Regions from separate parts of the Homo sapiens genome. Here regions 2 and 3 are each linked to region 1. The links are contacts of gene promoters, found by promoter capture Hi-C in human tissues and cell types (Jung and others, 2019). All regions are on one chromosome and are shown on one strand. Each heading gives the region's core, a stretch centred on a gene start or on the middle of the fragment in contact. The rest is flanking DNA. Distances are from core to core; before and after follow the strand shown. Region 1 holds the start of MGLL (monoglyceride lipase). Region 2 overlaps TPRA1 (transmembrane protein adipocyte associated 1). Region 3 overlaps SEC61A1 (SEC61 translocon subunit alpha 1).

What was found. Contacts are between HindIII fragments. The study calls those that stand out against the background at their distance.
Region 2: a fragment that was not itself captured here is called in contact with the fragment with the promoter of MGLL in region 1 in 1 of the 25 tissues and cell types used here (small bowel).
Region 3: a fragment that was not itself captured here is called in contact with the fragment with the promoter of MGLL in region 1 in 1 of the 25 tissues and cell types used here (IMR-90 fibroblasts).

What each region holds. Positions count from the first base shown.
Region 1 is chr3:127,820,784-127,823,984 of GRCh38, forward strand. MGLL (monoglyceride lipase) reads right to left here and starts at 1,732. Exons shown (of 8, transcript NM_007283.7): 1 at 1,526-1,732; 2 at 911-1,055. The coding sequence starts at 1,535. RefSeq lists a silencer at 2,174-2,693. The HindIII fragment of the contact is 31,525 bases long and covers 1-3,201 here.
Region 2 is chr3:127,579,138-127,582,338 of GRCh38, forward strand. It overlaps TPRA1 (transmembrane protein adipocyte associated 1), which reads right to left. Exons shown (of 11, transcript NM_001136053.4): 2 at 885-1,026; 3 at 603-735. The coding sequence starts at 1,009. Among named protein-coding and RNA genes, the nearest start is that of MIR6825, 5.4 kb to the left of the region's middle. RefSeq lists an enhancer at 500-1,461. The HindIII fragment of the contact is 6,986 bases long and covers 1-3,201 here.
Region 3 is chr3:128,060,795-128,063,995 of GRCh38, forward strand. All of the region lies in intron 7 of SEC61A1 (SEC61 translocon subunit alpha 1), which reads left to right. Among named protein-coding and RNA genes, the nearest start is that of SEC61A1, 10 kb to the left of the region's middle. The HindIII fragment of the contact is 4,484 bases long and covers 1-3,201 here.

The DNA of each region.
Region 1 (3,201 bases), core at 482-2,981:
AGCTGCCCTGAAGCTATGACTCTATGCCGGGTTTTAAAAGTCCATATCTCTGTGTTTTTAACGTGCAGCTCCCTGGATCATAGATACCTTGATGAAGACAGAGAAGAAATTTTACACCTGTGTGAGGGTTGGGTGATTACTGGAGCACAAAGAGAGACATAATCCAACCACACAATGATCCCTAGGAGACAAGAGGCCTACAAAACAGGTAAAATGTCCCTGGAACAGGAAATGTTCTTGTCACCAGGCCAATTGGTTACCACAAATAAATTCTTTTTCCAAATAACACAAACAAGCAGGGTTTTCCTGCTTCATCCAAGAGGAGGGAGCAGCAGCAGGAGACCAGCTGTCTTGTGTATAGTCCCAATGTTTGCTTCTAATAGCAAGACAAATCCTTGATGGAAAATGTACAAAGTAATTGAGCTGGCAAGGAATCAGAAGGAAATACCCAGGCCCCTTTCTTCCTGGTGACACATGTATGCCATCTTCAGAAGCTCAGAAACAAGCAGGAAAAGTGAGCAAAGGTGAAGATATATGTATTACTTCGGGTTTCTCATCCATCTAGGGGATTTTCCTTAATTGTCGGGTTTGATTTTAAATGAATGCCTGTACAACCGGAAATCAACTCCAGTACAAAAAATAAAGTCATGTGGAATTTTTGAAAATTGCCATACGGTAGGATCCATATCTGAGTTGTTATAATGAAAAAAGAATTCCTGCTTCTTAAATTTAAAAATTATAAAGTATACATTTTAGCTTTGTTAACATTGCTCAGCCTAACATTAAAACGGCAGGGGAAGTAGGTCATAGAGAAAGCGGCCCCGCCCCAGATGGCACATGATAACGACCAGAGGAGAAGCAGGGGCCATGCTCCCCTGTCACCTGGGGTGACTTTCTGGGGAAGACTTACTTGGGTGTGCCTGTGGGTTTCCAGTACCTGCAGAAGAGGTACTGTCCGTCTGCATTGACCAGGTGAGGGAGGTCCTGGTAGGGAATGCTCTGCGGGGTCCGCCTGGGGGAACTTTCCTCTGGCATGCTGGAAGGGTCTTCAGGTCCTAGAAGGAAAAGTGACATATTCCAAAGTCAGAAATATCTCAAGAACATGTATGGATAGGAGAGAAAAGTCTAGTTCAGAGTCAGTAACATTTTTTTAAAAGCAGTTTAAAAAACCCCTCTGTTTCAAAGGTTTAAAACATACATACATTTCTTGCAAACCTCTCCAAGACTGAAAAATCCCATTTGTTCTTAAGAAAATGCTCACTTTATTTTTTAAGTGCCTCATTACAGTTTTTCCCCCTTCCCATCTGTGTTTATTTTAAATCATTTCAGGAAACTTCATCTTAAAGACTATTTTAGCTGTAATCAAGTGGAAATTATAGTCAGCTCTATGGGTACAAAGACCCAGCTGCAAGAAGACCCATCTATCTTAAAATCTCCAAGGAACAGTTTCAAGTGGGCACAATAATGAGGTGGATGATACTCAGATTATTCCTCCCATCTGAAATTCCAAGGATACATGACAAACCTGTTTCCATTATGTGCTGGCGTTTGCATTCCACAACCACGACAGCCTGGAGAATCAGAACCAGGCAAATCGGGCTGTTCCCTCATCTGGGCGGCCCCAAGGCAGCAGGAAGGCAGCTCCGAGCCCTCTTCCCGCACCCAGACCCTGCCTTTCGGGCTGGGGCGCTCAGCCGGGAGCCTGCTTCCAGCTCCCACCGGCAGGCTCTCCGGGGCTCCCCTCCCTCCCCAGGGCGGGGAGCGGCGCTGCGATTCTCCACTACTAGTTCATGTCATCACTTTTCCTAAACAAATCGCTAGAGGGGCTCGGAGAAGGGAGGGGCCCGGGAAACTGGGAAACTAGCTCCGCGCACACCGAGGCACCTCGCAGACGCACAAATGCGGGTGCCCAAGGCAAAGTCGCCCCCAAGGCTTCTCACAAACTTTGCTTCCTGTGCGTCTCCGACAGCACAGGACACGTAGCCCCGAAGCTGTCATCGGAAATGCCGCTGGGAAAACCGGGTGGGCTTCGCCGGGTGTCTGCACCGGGGAAGGTGGGGACTAGAAAGATGGAGTTGATGGGGACAAGTTGGTTTGGGGGCTGGTGCGAAGGAGCAGGGAGGGCGCGCGCGCGCGCACACGCGCGCACACTCGGACACGCGCGCACACACACCGTGCACACACACACACGCACACATGGGTAGCGGGAGCCCACGCCGGGCGTGTCCGGGACCCCAGTGCTGCTCCCCACCCCTGACGGCGGCACTGGCGGGCTGGGGCAGGGGCCGGGAGGCAGTTACCGGGGCCACGAGCGCCGCTGTCGCGTTCCCCGAGCGCAGCGGATCCTCGTTTGCGGCGGGCCAGGGCCGGGACGAGCTGCGCGCGACCGGCTTCGCGGCGACAGGGTGCGGCGTCTGCGCCGCCACTTTATCCCTGGGCCGGCTCGGCGGCGGGGGCGGCCCGAGGTGGGTGGGGACGCGCGGGACCCGGCGGGCGGCGGGCGGCGCGGGGAGGCGGCGCCCGGGGCCCACGTGTGCCCGGCCCGCGGGGAGGAGCGGGGGCGCCGCCCGCCGACCCAGCCACGCACTCCTCTCCTCCGCGCCTCGTGGACAGCCGCGCCCCGGGGTGGCCGCCCGAGGACTGTCAGGGAGGCCTGAACTGAGCTGGGTTCATGGGAGCCTCAGCGCGGGAGGACACACCACACCCACGGGCACACGCGCGCACACAGACCCACAGGCACCACACGTACACAGACAACTCGCGCAGGGCCGCACACTCACCACACGTGTACACATGTGCACTCCCAAAGTCACTACACTGCACGCAGGGACATACAGACACACATCCCAGAGATACCACATGCATACAGACACACACAGACCACACATGCATGCACACACACAAGCCGAGACATAGGCACAGACAACCCACAGAGACACAGAGGTGCACAGACATATGCAGACTATACACCTGGCCCCCACATAGACACAGACACACTCACATCATACACACACAGTCGCACACAGACACACTCACACTTCATTGCAGTCAGACACATACAATGCTGGAGGGGCAATTAACCGGTCGTGGTGGCATGCGCCTGTAGTCCCAGCTACTCAGGAGAATCGCTTGAACCCGGGAGGCAGAGGTTGCAGTGAGCCGATACCACACCATTGCACTTCAGCCTGGGTGACAGAGTGA
Region 2 (3,201 bases), core at 220-2,719, 240 kb before region 1:
GCAACACGTGCCAGGACCACCAAGTGGTGACAATGCAGGCTCTCCCAGCAAGTAAGATGTCTTCTCCAAAGAGGTTTCACAGAATGGACAGATGGGGGACGAATGGATGGAGGATGCAGTGGGCATTTTCCCCACCCAGCATCCATTCCCCTCCCCTCTAGTACCAGCTCCCCAATTCTGTTGTGGGCTCCCTCAGTCCATATGGTCCAGCTGAGCTGATGCTGCCCTCCCAGCTTCACAGTGCCCCTTTCCTTGCTAGCCACAGTGCTTGGCTCAGGGATGAGGATGGGATCCTAGGTGGGCCAGTCAGAGGAAATCCCAGGTCTACACTGGCACTATCAGCAAACAGGCACTGTTTGCCTGAGTTGTAGAGGCAGGATGTTAGCTCAAAGTTGCTCCTGGCCATCTTTGACACCATATGAGGGGAACTCATCTGAGATAAGTCCCAAAGAGATCAGAGATGCAGAAACAGATCCTAACGATATCATTTAACTGCCTGGATCCAGCCATACCTGAAGCTTATTTTCATTATAGAAGCAGTTAATTCCCTTTTTGTTTAACCCAGTTGGAGTTGGCTTTTCTGTCAACTGCAGTGAACTCACCAGGATGTAGAAGGTGATAAAAATGGGGCTGGAGGTGATGCGGATCTTCGCCCGAGCAGATGGAAGCTTCCAGAGCAGGAAGATGAGGAAGAGCACATTGGGGATGAGCAGCAAGAGGTCCCAGTACCGGACCCTGGCGGATGGGCACAGGAGCTGGCTCACTGGCGAGGCCACATATGCACCCCCTCTCCAAGACACAATCTGCCCCACCCTCACCACCCCCCTACACCAGGAAAAGCCACTGACACTCAGCGAGCCTGCCCAGCGTTGTGACTGCCTCACCTGGAGGTGCCAATGTCTTCGTAGAGCAGCAGCAGGCAGCGATGAGGCACACTGATGTTTGGTGCCAGGGGTGGGGGTAGCGCTGTGCTCCCATTGGCCCAAGTCACCTCCTCCAGGGTGTCCATCCCGCCAGCAGCCAGCCCTGGGGGAGTGAGAGCCGCCCAGTGAGCTGTGTGGCCTGGGCCACTGTCCTCCTTCCCCTGGACCTGGGACTCCCAGGGGAAAATCAGAGGGGCTGCACAGAGCACCCCTGTAAACCACCCTCCCCACCCACTGCAGCTCAGTGTGGGGCTCCACACAGGTCACGACCCAATCCCCCAGGCAGGGGCCCAGTCCCCCATCTCAGGCTCTATCTCACGACCTGCAAATAGTCTAACAAAGCCACCCCCTCAGCTAAGCATCTCCATGTGCAAGGCACAGCCACTTGGCTCCTTTCAGTCCTGAGGGCCCATGAGAGCAGCGTGGGTAAGAGCATAGGCTCTGGGTTCACAGCCCAGCCCTGCCCCTTCCTTCCTGTCCTCTCCGTGCCTGTGTCCCCCCACCATGGAATGGGTGTAACAAGTGAGGCTGTGGTGATGCCGAGTGCCTCAAACAAGGCACACACGTGAGGAGTTCTTGGTAGCGGTCAGCCATGGTTCTGACCTGCCACACCATGCAGAACTCAGAGGCCACTGACTTGTGTGAGGCCACAGCGCTGCTGAGGGCCAGAGCTGAGCACCATGCCCTCCTCGGTTGCACCCTCTGGCCCTTGTCTCCCTCTGCCACCACAGACAAAGATGGAGGGGACACTGAGCCATGCCTAGAAGATGCACAGGAGGTCTCCAACTGGAGATGGGCATGGGGGAAGAGGCTGTACCACAGAGGGGCAAGGCAAGTGTGTCTGCAATGGCCACGCTGCAGGGTGAAGCCAGGGACAGGGTGGGTCCATAGGCCAGAGGTCCACATGACACTCTGAGCATGAGAGGTCGAGTCTAGCCTGGAAGACAGGAGAGCTGGTGGTCTGGGGTCCTGGGAACCACTCTGGGGTTAGGGGACTGAGGGTCTGGTCGGAAAACCAAGACTCCTAAGCTAGAGGACTCTCAGGAGGCAGCAACAGGTACTTCCGCAGGGAGTTCGGGGTGATCCAGGTGTGGCCTGGGGCACCAGAACGTAACAGATGCCAACATTTAGAATGATTTGAACAGATTGGGCCAGATGCCTGTGACTCTGCTTCACCAGGAATGCTTGTAAAGGCTGTGGATGACAGCCCCAGGCGGGGAGCAGCCCCAGAGCATGGGCATAAATGGTGGCAGGTTCCTACGGTTGACACTTGCACAGCATAAAAAGAACAACCCACTGCTACAGGCAACACGAATGACTCTCAGAAGTGATATAGCGTGAAGCCAGGCACAAGGGCCGACAGGCGTATGATCCGTGGAGAAATGCAGACAGGGCGCCTTTGGGGAGATGAAGCGCATGGTAATTGGGGGAGGCCTGCCAGCGTCTGGGTGTCAGATCCAGGTGGTGGGTACACAGGTGTGTTCACTGTGTGGTAATTCATCAAGCCACACACCGATGACTCCTAAGTCATAGGTGTACTTCAGTAAATTTTAAAAAGTAAAAAAGATGTGGCCGGGCGCGGTGGCTCATGCCTGTAATCCTAGCACTTTGGGAGGCCGAGGCGGGCAGATTGCCTGAGCTCAGGAGTTCGGGACCAGCCTAGACAACATGGTGAAACCCCATCTCTACTAAAATACAAAAAAAAAAAAAAATTAGTTGGGCATGGTGGCATGTGCCTATAGTCCCAGCTACTCAGGAGGCTGAGGCAGAAGAATTGCATGAACCCAGGTGGCGGAGCTTGCAGTGAGCCGAGATGGTGCCACTGTGCTCCAGCCTGGGCGACAGAGCGAGACTCCATCTCAAAAAAAAAAAAAAAAGAAAAAGAAAAAAGATTTGTCCCGACAACACATCAAAGGCCCAGGCCTCCCCTTCAGCAAGGAGCCGCCCAGTGAGCTGCATGCCTGTCAGCAAGGTCTGCAGAAACGCAACAGGAGCCCTGCTTGTGTTGTCACCAAAGCTATCCCTGAACAATAGCAGCCCAAGACAGGGGTGGGGGGACTTAGGAATATTTCCATTGCTGGTCCAAGCCCTTAAACACCAGAACACCTCTGGATGAAAGGGAGGGAAGACTCTGAAGGGGGCGGGCCATGGGCTGGGGCTCAGGTTGCTCCAGTGGGCCACTCACTGGCTCTGGGATCAAGTCCCCATCTAAACAGTAAGGACAGCAGGGTGTAGTGACTCACACTTGCAATCCCAACACTTTGGGAGGCTGAGGAGG
Region 3 (3,201 bases), core at 412-2,911, 240 kb after region 1:
GGTCCATCTGCAAAGTTTTAAAAACACAAATAGGCTTGTAATTATGATGATACCTAACTTGCACTTTTCATATAAAAATATCTCCTGGACGTTTGGCACGTCAGAATACACAATCCTGCCTCACTTTTCTTAGCACAGTATAAGCTTATATTGCAACGATAAAGCAACGTTAAGTCATTTCCAGGTTTTTTTATCGTTAACATTGAAACCATGACTGTCCTCATATGTTCATCTTTGTATATTTTGGCAGCTGCTCTCAGTGAATAAGTTTCTAAAAATGAAATTCCTAAACCAAAGCACTTGGTCATGCAAGGGGCAGCTTTCTGAAAAAGGCCTGAACTTGGAGCTTAGCACCTGCGTTCAAATCCTGGCTGTTCCTGTTAGTCATACATACGTGGCTTTGGGCAGATTCCTGCACCACTGAATCTTGGTTACCAGGATGCAGTGAGAAGCAACATGAAATTACATGATGCCTGGCTCCTGGTAGATGTGTATCAAACATTGGCATGCTGTGCTACATCCACCAAGTGCCGTGGAAATCTTGTAACAGCATGTTTTTAATAAAAAGTTCAAAACATACAAGGGAAGCCTTAGAGAGTGTGACTTATTAGGGAAAGGAAATAAACATTTTTTGGCACTAAATATCTTCTTCACTGAGGAGCATTCCAGGAGAAATAATCATGCATATTTGAGAGTTTTCTTTTAATTGAATGTTGGAAACAGAGTCCTTGGCCTCCAGAGACCATATTATCTCATTAATGAGATGGAAAACTGGTCCCCAAACAAGTGAAGGCTGCATGTGCCTAACAGGTTACAAAGGAGAGTGGAGCTTGAGATAGGGAGCCATAGAGAAGAGTGGGCAAGATCACATTTGATGCTTCCTTGAGTACTTTGTATAAATTTAGGAAATCCAAGGTAAATTGGGAGAAGCAGGTCCAGAAGGCAAAGTTTGACAGGATGTGAAAAGGCAAGAGGGGGATGGCATTGTAGGAGTTCAGGTATTTGTCAAGACCATCATGGTGACTGGCTTTTGGGGAGTGCCTGAGTGGGAAGGAAGTAAAGTCAGAGGGGAGCCCCTGGTGGCTTAGCAGCCCAGTAGTAGCCGCCAGAGGCTCATGTTCCATTCTGCAGCAGGGCATTGAGTAATGGGAGCCAGAGTTTGGAAGAAGTGATTTGCTCTGCACTGAAAGGCAGAGAGAGCAGCTAGGTGCGTGCAGCAGTAATCCAGCCCCAATTAAGCCATCCTACAGGAGAGCACTGTGTGAGGGCATTTGGAGGAAGCAAGTTGAGAGAGGGGACCAGAGAGGCACTTTCAAGGTGGGGGAAAACTAAGAAGCAAAGGTGGATTTGTCTGGCCTTGAAGTCAGTGTGTCTACATGTCAGTTGCTCGTGTTTGGGACCTGGCTGACACGAGATGCATTCAGGAAGGGCTGTGCCCCATGGCCTGCATGTGGGCAGTGAGTGGTGCTAGAGGGAGAGCCTAGGGAGGGGCAGGGAGAGCCACACAGAGGGCACAGCTGGGACGGCAGCTTTGCAGCTGTGCCTGGAGATGTTGCAGCTTGGCTTGGGACAGGGGAGGCTGTTGAATGAGATTCTACAGGCAGAGACAGTAATCACTGCTGCTTCCCTGGGCAGCAGGAACAATGCAGAACTGGGAATTAGTCCCAAATTTGAAACCGTGGGGAAACAGGCCAGCCTTGTCACACAGGACCAAAAGGTGGAAAGGATGGGAATTGACGAAAGACCGCCACAGGGTGAGATGAGGACATGATGGCCAGTTAGGATATGGTGTCTCTTTCACAGAAGCCACAGCAGAGGAGGTCAGTGGTCATATTGGTTAGATGGTCTGCCTGACATGTCATCTCGGAATGGTCCAGGAAGATGTAGCAGGTGGTCCTAGCTATCACGTGTTAGAAACTTGGGAACAGTGCTTTTGAGTTCTTTAGTTTCACCTTTTCCTAGATTCACTTGCTTTTTAGTCATGGGAGGAGTAAAAGTGAAAGTTGGAAGATTTGTTCTATGAAAGGAAAATCAGGGAGCAGAACCTACTCCTGACAGCATCCAGAGACACAATCTGGAGATGTCACACCTGCAGCACCGAAACTCAATGTCAGGCACTTGGGGTCTGGATGGCTCCTGAGCTGAACTACAGATTTGGGCCACCTCTCTAGGCTCACCATCCAGATCTGGGTCCAGAGGACAGAATTATTACCTTTGGGTTAAAGTGATCCCTTCTCAAGTTTTTATTTAATGTGCTTTTAAAAGGCAAACCCCACATACCATCAGTTTGGTTACTCTTCCCATTCCCTCAGCTACCAAGTTATTTTGGTTGAATAGAAGCTTTCCTTTTTGTAGGGTGTCTTCATTTCTTACATCTCACTCTATTTCACTGTTAGGCACAAGGGAATGGACACATTTGACAAGTTCCACAGTACTAGATGGGTCCTCTAAGTACAGTCTGACCTTCAGTTTCAGCTTTCCTATTTAATCTGTCATGTAAAATTAATTGTACTCCAAAGTGGCCATCAAATACAGTCCCTATTTGACTTTTTGTTGTTGTTGAGACGGAGTCTTGCTCTGTCACCCAGGCTGGAGTGCATTGGCGCCATCTCGGCTCACTGCAACCTCCGCCTCCCGGGTTCAAGCAGTTCTCTGCCTCAGCCTCCTGAGTATGGGATTACAGGCGCCCGCCACCATGTTCGGCTAATTTTTTTGTATTATTAGTAGAGACAGGGTTTCACCATCTTGGCCAGGCTGGTCTTGAACTCCTGACCTTGTGATCCGCCCGCGTCAGTCTCCCAAAGTGCTGGGATTACAGGCGTGAGCCACCACGCCCGACTCCTATTTGACTTTTTTAAAAGTGCTCCTCAGAGTACTGATACCATGACCCCACACTGCCCACAGAGACCCTGTCTCTGGAAGTAATGCCAGCTTCCTGCCAGTAGAAGCAGCGTGAGTTGCCAGGCTTCCATTATGGGATGGTTATGCTGTCCTGGAACGGCAGAGGTTATCACTTGTTTCTTTTTTTCGCTTTTTAGTTTTTTAACGTAAGTAAATTTCTTGCTGATGTCTAAAACTTAGGCCTTAATAATGCACCACACTCCCCGCCTTCCTCTCACTTGTTACTCTGTTGTCTGGTTCTTAGATTGGGTCCCTTTCCTATATCCCTCAGTCCCTCAGTAAGCTCACTCCACCCCTAGG